Linked DNA regions of Homo sapiens: all the other regions are linked to region 2. Evidence: promoter capture Hi-C in human tissues and cell types (Jung and others, 2019). All regions are on one chromosome and are shown on one strand. Each heading gives the region's core, a stretch centred on a gene start or on the middle of the fragment in contact. The rest is flanking DNA. Distances are from core to core; before and after follow the strand shown.

Region 1 (3,091 bases), core at 290-2,789, 300 kb after region 2:
TGGCAAGGGTACCTCCTCATTGTTTGCCAGCCAATTCTCAACTCTTTGCTTTATATGTTCTCATTACCCCTGAGAGTGCTCTCTGCACATGGCAGATGTCCAAAAAACACCGATTGGGTTTTGAGGGCAGCAGTAAATAAAAAAGACAGTTAATCAAATGGCAAATCTATCCTATCCAAGAAAATGCAACAGGCCAGTAGGAGAGGGCTTCTTGCCCATTCCAAATGTAATCTTAGGCTGTGTTGATAGACTGACACTGCCCGCATCCTGAGAAATACTACATGCCACATCTGGAGTAGCTTTGGGTATTCTGAGTGACACAAACTGGAGGCGCCTGCATGAGAGCAAGCCGAGCTGGTGAAGGTCCATTACTGACGCTCTGAGGCTTGGTTGAATGGAACAGGAAGACCTGAAGTGAAAGAGGAGCTTTGACAAGCTCCTGGACGCTGATCAGAGCAAAGGGAGCAGACATGTGGCGAGTCGTCCTCCGAAGGCAAGGCAAGGTCAATGGGAAGCCACAGAGGGTGTTTTGCTCAGCACACGGAAGAGTGTGTAGAGCAGAGTAAGAGCGCCTGGAACCCTGAAGCTTCCTCTAGGCCCTCCCACTGCAGGGCGCTGTATCAGAGGCTGGAGAGCCTAGTGTCAAGCATATTTCAGTCTTTGTGGAACTTGGCATCCTGTAGGCTATATTTTGCCCCTGGGCATGTTTGATTTAGCTTATATAAAATATTTTTTTAAATATTGGAGCCAGTGTTTGTAAGTTAGGTTATTTCACATTAAAAAAATATCTTGAAAACATAGAAGGTCAGGAAGCGCACAGACGGCATCTACCTACAGCAACAGTGTGGGCTGGTCCCTTTGGGCTCTCTGGCCCGGGCTGTGCGTGCCAGTTTCACACTTTCCAGCCGTGGCCCCTGCACTCATCTTTGCTACCTGCCTCCATAAATATCTGAGTTTGTGGCCAAGATGTAGGAGCGGACCTTCTCCACTGACCTGGGTGAAAGACGAGTTTTCTAAATTTCCCATCTGATGCTGACTGATGCTTTTGTAAACAACCATAAAAATGAATTACTAGAAAAATGGAATTCAAAAGGAGGCATACAAAACACAAGCCCCAAGTTTTTATTAGCTTCAACAGACATAATGTTATTCTGGCAAATTTCAGCGTAAGTGTATCAATGCTTATTCGCAATTGCTGTGCTTATTAGCTTGTTATGGGCTAGTAGAAAACAGTTCATGGACAAGTCAGAAAATCTCATTTGAGTAGCACTGGTCTAGGGAGTTGCTAGGGGTCCTCTTAAATATACAATTCTGAGATGTGGCCTGTGACTTTCTGAATTGCGTATCTATTAACTCCAAGGGTGTCCAAATGAGCAAGAATACATGGAATCATGTCCTTGATGTGCACAGAACTGTAACTCACCTTTCCTTCCCCAGCCTTTATCCATGGTATGATTAGGTGGGTTCCTTAGAACCTGATATATTTTTGGTCCTTAACTTAAAGCACATGCTTATCTTATTCAAAACATGAAGCCTCCCACACTCTACCTTATACCTTCAGAGAAAAAAGGCAGAAGCTCCAGCTATCACCCAGTATCTGCCCAAGTACATCTGGCTTGGGTACAGCTCACCTTAAGTCCCTGCAAAGAAAGCTGCCTCAGCCATGCAGGGTGACAATCTTGTCCAAGGAATGCTTATGGTAAAAGCAAAAGGTTGGATTTGAAATTAGGCATTATGTGTGCAAGAAGATGAAGAATAGTTGCTAATTTCCCTCACAAACAAATACATTTGTTTATGATTTTGATTTTCTAAATACTCAAAAATGCACATCATAAAGTACTTTTGCTTTAATGCTCCTTTTAAAATCCCTAATAACAACTTCATGTGCTCCACAGAAACAGACCATGTAATTTATTCAGGAAAATTAAAACCAGTAATCTAGCATTCTGAGTAAAGATTTTTTTCCCCCTGCATGGACTTTAAAAACATTTTTTAAAAAGGGAAATCTGCATGTGAAAACAAAGCCTTTAAAGTGATTTACTATTCCAGAAAATCAAGCTAAGAGAATTCCATAAAAGTAGTCGTTTTCCTTTTTGTTCCTTTACTGATAAAAATAAAGTGAACTGGTTACTTTTAAGTAAAGAGTTAGACAAGAAAGAAAATGTTCCACTTAGAAAGAATGAGGTGGGTATTTTTCTTTGCATCAAAAGCTACAGTAACTTCATCTATAAATCCTGAGCAAGAAATGTCCAGAATAACCACATTTCATAAGCTTTGCTGAGTTTGAGACATCTACATAGCAACAGCCTTGCGATGGGAAAACATTAATGCTTTTTATATTGGTAATCATCTGTAACATGAGCAATTAAGTACAGTACTAATGGACTATGGCCAGGAGCCTGGTACTAATATTAAAAACTGACAGAGATGAATAGATTTGGAAGCAAAACCCGGCTGACAAAGACATTTTTATGAAGTGCTTGGACCTATTTGATTTAAACCAATCAGAGGCAAGTTTGTACGAGTCAGGCCTTCAGTGACAATGATGTATTCACAAGCATTGTACCATTTCTGCTTTGCCTTAAATAAAAACACCCATTGATTCTTTTCAACAACCCACACTTTCATTATTGCACTCATTAATAAACCAAAAGTGCTCAACTAATATACAAGTAACATTTTACTGAGGAACTGGCTACATTTTTCTTGTTGTAAAATGAAAACGTTTACTGGAAACATGAACCACAGTGCATGAAAAATAAATCAGTGGATAATGCATAGAGATCACTCACTTCTTCATCTTCTAGGAAAGCAAAGCTGGTGGCAGGGAAATAGGAAAAAGAGCAGTTCTCTTTATCGGAGTGAAAAGAATGAGAACAGAAGAACCCGCAGCCTAGTAGGAAGAGCTCTCATCATCCTGATTTGGTTTGGAAGGCTTTACAAAATTCCAAGGGCATTTCCAGACTAGATATTTGCCCACAAAGTCCTGACCATTCTCAACTCATTGACCCTTCTTGAAAACAGTGTTCCTTCACCAATCCAGTCATCTCTGTTTTATCTGTTCATGCAACCTGTGACTAGCAAGAATGAA
Region 2 (3,014 bases), core at 464-2,963:
AGTGACTTTTGCACATAATATTTTATGTTGCACTTAAAACCTACAGCCCATGGGCCAAATCCATCCACATCAATTTCTGCATTATTTACTGCTGCCGTATCAATTTCTGTATTATTTATTGTAAACCACAATGGCAGTGGTGAGTAACTGAGACAGAGACTCTATGCTCCTAAAAGCTAAAATATTTACTACCTTTACAGAAAAAGTTTGCCAACTCCTACCTAGAATCAAAAAGGTGGGTAACATTCCCTCTCCACAGAAGAGAACACTGAAGCAAGGAAGTAAAGCCATTAATCCAAGGTCAGATGGAAAGTGGTAGATCCAGAAGTGGAATTCAAGTTTCCTCCCCTCCTGAATTTGGCACACTAAATGCAAAACCGTGCCCCATTTTAAGGATACAATCCGAGATGCGTGAACACAAGAACATATGAAAACTCACATGAATTGTCAAAATGGGTCCTAAGACAGCAAGCTCAGGACCTATCCTCAAGTACAGGAAAGATTACTCAAGCTATGCACAGTGGCATTAAGCCTGCAATCAGCTGAAAATTTTTCACCCTGAAATTTTTGCCTTTTTTTCCTTCAGGTATTGCTGTGATGACATAAACCAAAGTGCTAATCGTAACAATAACAGACCCCATACGTGAGTTTCACTGAAACCTGGGGACCCAATGTGTCAAATACCATTTGGCATAAGTGGGGCCATGGCCAAGATTTTTATTATAATAGAGTGTTCTGGACGGATTTGTCTTGTCTCAGATGCTATTTTATATGACAACCTCTAGGGATGGTCAGTGTGTGAACCAGGTAGGTATCAGCATACTCTCTTAATAACAGGAAGTTCTGGTTTCCTTGTAGGAATGCATTATCTTCACCCTAGCAACAGATGACTGTTGGCAACCCAATTCTGCAAGCAGTGCATATCTTCTATTCCTCCATGAAAGGTTTCTACTTAAATGTAACAAGCATTGGACCCGAAATGAGGGAGCCCAGCTGGGGTCTTTGGGTGAAAAGTGTCCTCAACCTCTTCAAAAGCAGAGGTGCAAATGGTCCCCAGGCAGCGAGGCAGGCAAGGCTTCTAGGTGAAGCCCCCGGCCCCCAGAGAGGGGAACCTCTTCCTGTGATGGGTACACCGGGATGTTTAACCACTGGTTTTCTGGGAACGAGATGCAAACCCTGGCTCAGCATAGGGCCAAAGACGCTGACAAGAGGTAAGGAAAGGGGAAGTCAGGATTCTAAGGGGGCAATGGGAAAAGGGTGGCATTTTGGATGGGGAAATGGGTAATCACACACTCCAGAGCACGCAGGCTTTTATGGGCCCAGAGGAAACCCAGTCCACTGGGCTGATGAAGAGCCCTAAGTGACTCTGCCAGAGAAGGGCAGGCTGGCAATGACCCTGCCCCGGGGTCCCAGCTCTCCCCGCCCCCTCTCCGCTGCGTGCCAGCCCACGGGTGCCAGAGTGGATTCGTGTGCACATGAGTTCCTGCTGGTGGGGGCCGGGAAGCCGGCTCTCCCAACTCCCCGCCATGCTGCGGGCTCGGGGACCCCCTCCCCAGCCCCGGCCACCCCGGCAGGTCCCCTCCGCCGAGCCGCGGGCGCAGATGGCCGGCGGCCGCCTCTTACCCGACTTGTTGCTGCTGCTGCTGCAGCCGCCGCCTCCGGTGCTGATGCTGCGGGAGCGAAGCGGTTTTCAGCAGAGCCGTAAATCAGACTGAGCCGGGCCGGCTCCCACTCCCCGCCGCACCTCCGCGCCGGGACCGGCGGCGTCCAGGGCGGAGCGAGGCGCGGCTAGCCAGCGGGGGCGGCGCTCGCGGGCACCGTGGGGCACCGCGCCGTGGGTGCGGGGGTTCCGGAACGCCGCGGCCCAGGGCTGCCACCTCCGCGGGGAACACCCTTGCTCTGCCCAGCTGGCGGGAGCATCATCTGCCCCCCCGCCACCCAGCCGGGAGCCCGATCCGACTCAGGATTACACTGACATCACTGCGAGAGATGCTGGGATCATTCCCCGGGGGAGGGAAGGAAAGACGCGTGTCAGCCTCGCAGTCGCGGCGCTTTCTGCAGGCCCTGGCAAGCTTTTTTGCACTAGTTTGGGGGGAGCGGGAGAGTGTGGATGAGGATGCAGCATAGCTGGGCATCTTCTTTGAAAATCTACCCGTTGGAAGGTCCGGGTATTTAATTAGGACCTCTTCATCCCAAGCAGCAGGGCGAGAATGTCCCAAAATAACTAACCCAGAGAGTACACTCCAGCCTTCCTAGCCAAGTGTCCTGAGGCTACGTTAACAGGCAGAACTAAATCTAGTAAAGTGCAGGGATTAATGAACAAACAGTTAAAGCAACAAGATCCCTCACCTACACCCCCATTTCTGAGGCGGACGCCCCTTTCCCTGGAGAAAAAATTTGTCCTCCTAAAGAGGGGATGTCCTGAAGAGAAGACGGCAAATCATTCCTTCTGAAGGACTCTGATGTCTCAGCTTGCTGGGCTTTTGCTTTTTTTTTTTTTTTTTTTTTTTTTTAACCTGTTTTGGTTTACCCCTACTGTAACTCCTGAAATGTGAAACCTAGATAAAAGTTACTGCTGGGTTTTCTTGTTCAAAGAAGAGAAGAGATTCTGTTCATCTGTAGACAGTTAATGCATCCTCTTGACTTCTCAGGGTGTCTTTTCTCAAGGCTTGCTGTTACTCATTTCAACACCCGATTTTATTTTAACGGTAAAGAGCTCAACAGTTATCTTAGTTGAAATTTTGTTTTGTTTTTGACAAATGAAAACAAATGAATTGCTTTGTTTTTTCACAAATGAATTATCACATCAAATGCAATGAAGATCCCAAGCTCTGGCATCAGACTTGATTCAAATCCTGGTTCTAGGGCCTGGGTCAAGTAACTAGACTTTTCTGTTCCTTCAATTCCTCATCTATGAAATGAAGATAATCAAGACCTACCTCTTAATATAGCGGTGGATCGAATGTGCTATGATGATGGAGGTAAAAACCCTGCCTGACAGGGACACACACTGA
Region 3 (3,048 bases), core at 404-2,903, 320 kb after region 2:
CTCCGTAACTGACATCGGGAGAGAAGAGGGCAAGTGCTGGGGAAATGTTACGAATAAAAATGTCCCACATATTCTACAATGCTGTCCATTACAGGATTTCGAACCTTTTTCTTTCCCTGCAGCTCCTCCTTCCTAAGCATTAAGAACATAAAAGACTATGCTTATTTAGTAAAGGAAAGTACATTCTCTGCAGGAGTTCTTCATTGCTTATTCTCTCAAGTGAACACATACAGTTTAATATCTTTCGACTGGTCCTGCAAAGATAAAACTTCCTCTGAAACTGATTCAATGGGGCTTCTAGGTAGGATTTTAACTTTTAAGGGGCTATGGAAATGGGACTAAAACAATTTTCCCATGTAGATTTTGTACTCTCTAACATTATATGAAGGCGAACATCCCGTGAAACTTTATGTTGTCATCATTTTTCACTGCCAAATTTTAGGCTGTTGGATCTAAAGTTCTGATGAAATCTATAATTTAATGGCTTCTTGAAATCATAACATCACTCCAGTTTTAATTTGTATTGCCTCCCACCCCTTCCTGAGTGTTTCCTGGGCAGCCAGGCTCCATTCTCAACGCTGTTTATGTGTTATTTCAAACTTAAAACCCGAATGAGGTAGTTATTATTTTCGTATTAGAAATGAGGAAACGGAGGTAGACAGGATGAGCAGCATGTACAACATCACAAGATCATGCCCTAGTTAGTAAGTGGGGAATCTGGAATTTAAGCCCAGGCAGCCTTACTTTAGGGCTTATGGTTTTAAATGTTATACTTTTCTGACACTCTTAATACAAATATTAAATTGGTAATGAAAACAAACTTCTAATTAAAAAGCCTATCTTATTACCAGGCATTACGAAACCTACCACTTAGAAATGTGATTTATCAAATGAAAAGCAAAAGACAAATCTAGGGGGTTTCCAATGTGTCAAGGAGCTCCATTCCTCCTATTGTATATTGAGCAAAGGGGAAGGAAATCAGTTTTCAATTGAGCACCTACAATGAGCTAGATACAGTGCTGTGGGCTTCACATACTCTACCTTCATGTTCCTGAGAATTGTAAAAGGGAGATATTTAGCCACATTTTACAGTTGAGGAAACTAGAGCTTAGTGAGGTCATGTATGGTTTGGAAGGGGCAGACCTCTGGGTTTAGAACTCAGGTCTGCCCCACTCCAAACCCCAATTTTATAACATAAAGGAGTAGATCTCTCAGGTTTGTGTACAAAACTGACTGAGTCTTAAATTTGCAGTGATAATGGGCCAACTACCTATATTATTAGGTCAGAAGAACCACTGTTAAAAGGAGAATAAGGTTTGAGCTCCTTGGTGTGTAGAGAGCTGCTTAACCCTCTTCCTCATCTGTGTAGAAACACTCAGAAACAGAAAGAAGACACAGAGGGGTGCATGAACCAGGTCCAAAGTAACCCAGACTCCCTGCTACATAGCAAAGGCTCCAAATGAAGCCAGGCTGCTGCCTACTGAACTCTGTCCTGAATCTCAGTGGGCTTGCCAGCATGCTGCTCCTGGGGAGGCCAGGTACTTAGTAAGAAGTGAACAAGTAAACAGAAGCTTCTTTTCTTGTTCTAGCTTGATATTTTTTTTTTTCAGTTAAGATAAATGAGCTCTTTAGGGTATTATTCTGATTCTGGGTAGGACTAAATCAAGTTCCTTTCTGTATGTTTTTACATTTACCCAAAGCATTCTCAGCATTTCAATCTATTAAATTATTACAGTGCAGGTGGTAGTGGAAATGGGAGCTAGTCTTCATGTTGACCTAAGAAAGCCCAGCCTTTTGATGGTGACAGTTAATTACTAGATCTGTTTTTCCTGACCTGAACACCATACACCTGTTGAGTTCACTAAGTACTTTGGGGTTTCCAAAATGATTGAGGAGGTGCTAATTAAAGAATCAACATTTAACGTTTTCAATGATCCACCACCTATTTGATATTAACCACATCCTTCCACGGGATTGAGTTATAACTAATCCAGCCTTCAACTGGGGCAGTAAGATGTGCTGAACCAGCAATACAAAAAGCTAGAGTTCTAATCTTGGTTTGGTTGCTAACTTGCTAGGTGACCCTCAGTTTCTACCTTAGTAAAGCAAAAATGATAATCCCTGGGAATAGTTCTGAGGACCAAATGAGAGGAAAAATATTGAAAATAATGAAAGTATCACATTTGTGAAATATAGAAAGTATGTTTATGGTTTAAATGAACACACTTCCCACCACAGTTTCCTTTTTTGTGTTCCTTTTAGAATATAAACCACCTGTAATACACTTCTGCCCTTCAGAAAATGCATACGGGATATTAAAAATAATTTGCCTTCTATCAATGTAGGCCTTTTATTAGGGTCCTATGCCATGAAGATTTCTGTTATAGATCACTCTATGAAAGGCCTGGGCCTCAGGTTCACTGCTTTAAGATTATTCCAGAAAAAAATGGCAGGATTTGGGCTGAACACAGTCATGAGATCTTCAAAGAACTGGTAGTTTCCTCCCCACGTGACACTTGCTGTCTTTGGGGAGCCATGTAATTCTCTCTCCGTTGGAAAACATGGTCTTGCAAAGCTGGTTTTCATGTTCTCATTGAGGGAGTGCAACGTTTTGATGGCGACCGGCAAATCACTTGACTTATTTTTCCAGTCATGAACACAACAAACCCAGTGGGTCCCACTCTAAGAGCTTTGCTGTGTGGAGCTGCATGAAGTTGGTGCTTAGTTAGAAATGGTCTGTTTGAGGCACTTTTAAAAAGAAACAGTCACATGGGTCTTGGTCACAAAGTCAAACAGCTCACTGTCCTCTAAGATGCTGCTTTCAATTCAACAGATGATTAGATGGTCACAGACTCATAATCTCTACTGCAGTGTTTCATGAGAAAAGACCATGTTAAGACACACATGCTTTTTAATGACTGTCCTCATCCCAGATGTGGCTTGTTCATTCTGTAGGGATTTTACATCTGCCTGTTGGTGTCAACAGACAAGCTCGTCACACTTCATACCTACTGATCTTTTTGCTTAAGTGGTCTTGCCAGACCCACT

Evidence for each region. Contacts are between HindIII fragments. The study calls those that stand out against the background at their distance.
Region 1: a fragment that was not itself captured here is called in contact with the fragment with the promoter of ZNF365 in region 2 in 2 of the 25 tissues and cell types used here (dorsolateral prefrontal cortex and hippocampus).
Region 3: a contact is called between a fragment that was not itself captured here and the fragment with the promoter of ZNF365 in region 2, in 1 of the 25 tissues and cell types used here (hippocampus).

What each region holds. Positions count from the first base shown.
Region 1 is chr10:62,072,957-62,076,047 of GRCh38, reverse strand. All of the region lies in intron 8 of ARID5B (AT-rich interaction domain 5B), which reads right to left. Among named protein-coding and RNA genes, the nearest start is that of ARID5B, 170 kb to the right of the region's middle. The HindIII fragment of the contact is 3,530 bases long and covers 1-3,091 here.
Region 2 is chr10:62,373,068-62,376,081 of GRCh38, reverse strand. It overlaps ZNF365 (zinc finger protein 365), which reads right to left and starts at 1,713. Exons shown (of 5, transcript NM_014951.3): 1 at 1,624-1,713. LOC283045 (a long non-coding RNA gene) reads left to right here and starts at 955. Exons shown (of 4, transcript NR_104162.1): 1 at 955-1,211. The HindIII fragment of the contact is 5,251 bases long and covers 1-3,014 here.
Region 3 is chr10:62,052,953-62,056,000 of GRCh38, reverse strand. The region is part of intron 5 of ARID5B (AT-rich interaction domain 5B); the gene reads right to left. Among named protein-coding and RNA genes, the nearest start is that of ARID5B, 150 kb to the right of the region's middle. RefSeq lists an enhancer at 1,197-1,316. The HindIII fragment of the contact is 5,484 bases long and covers 1-3,048 here.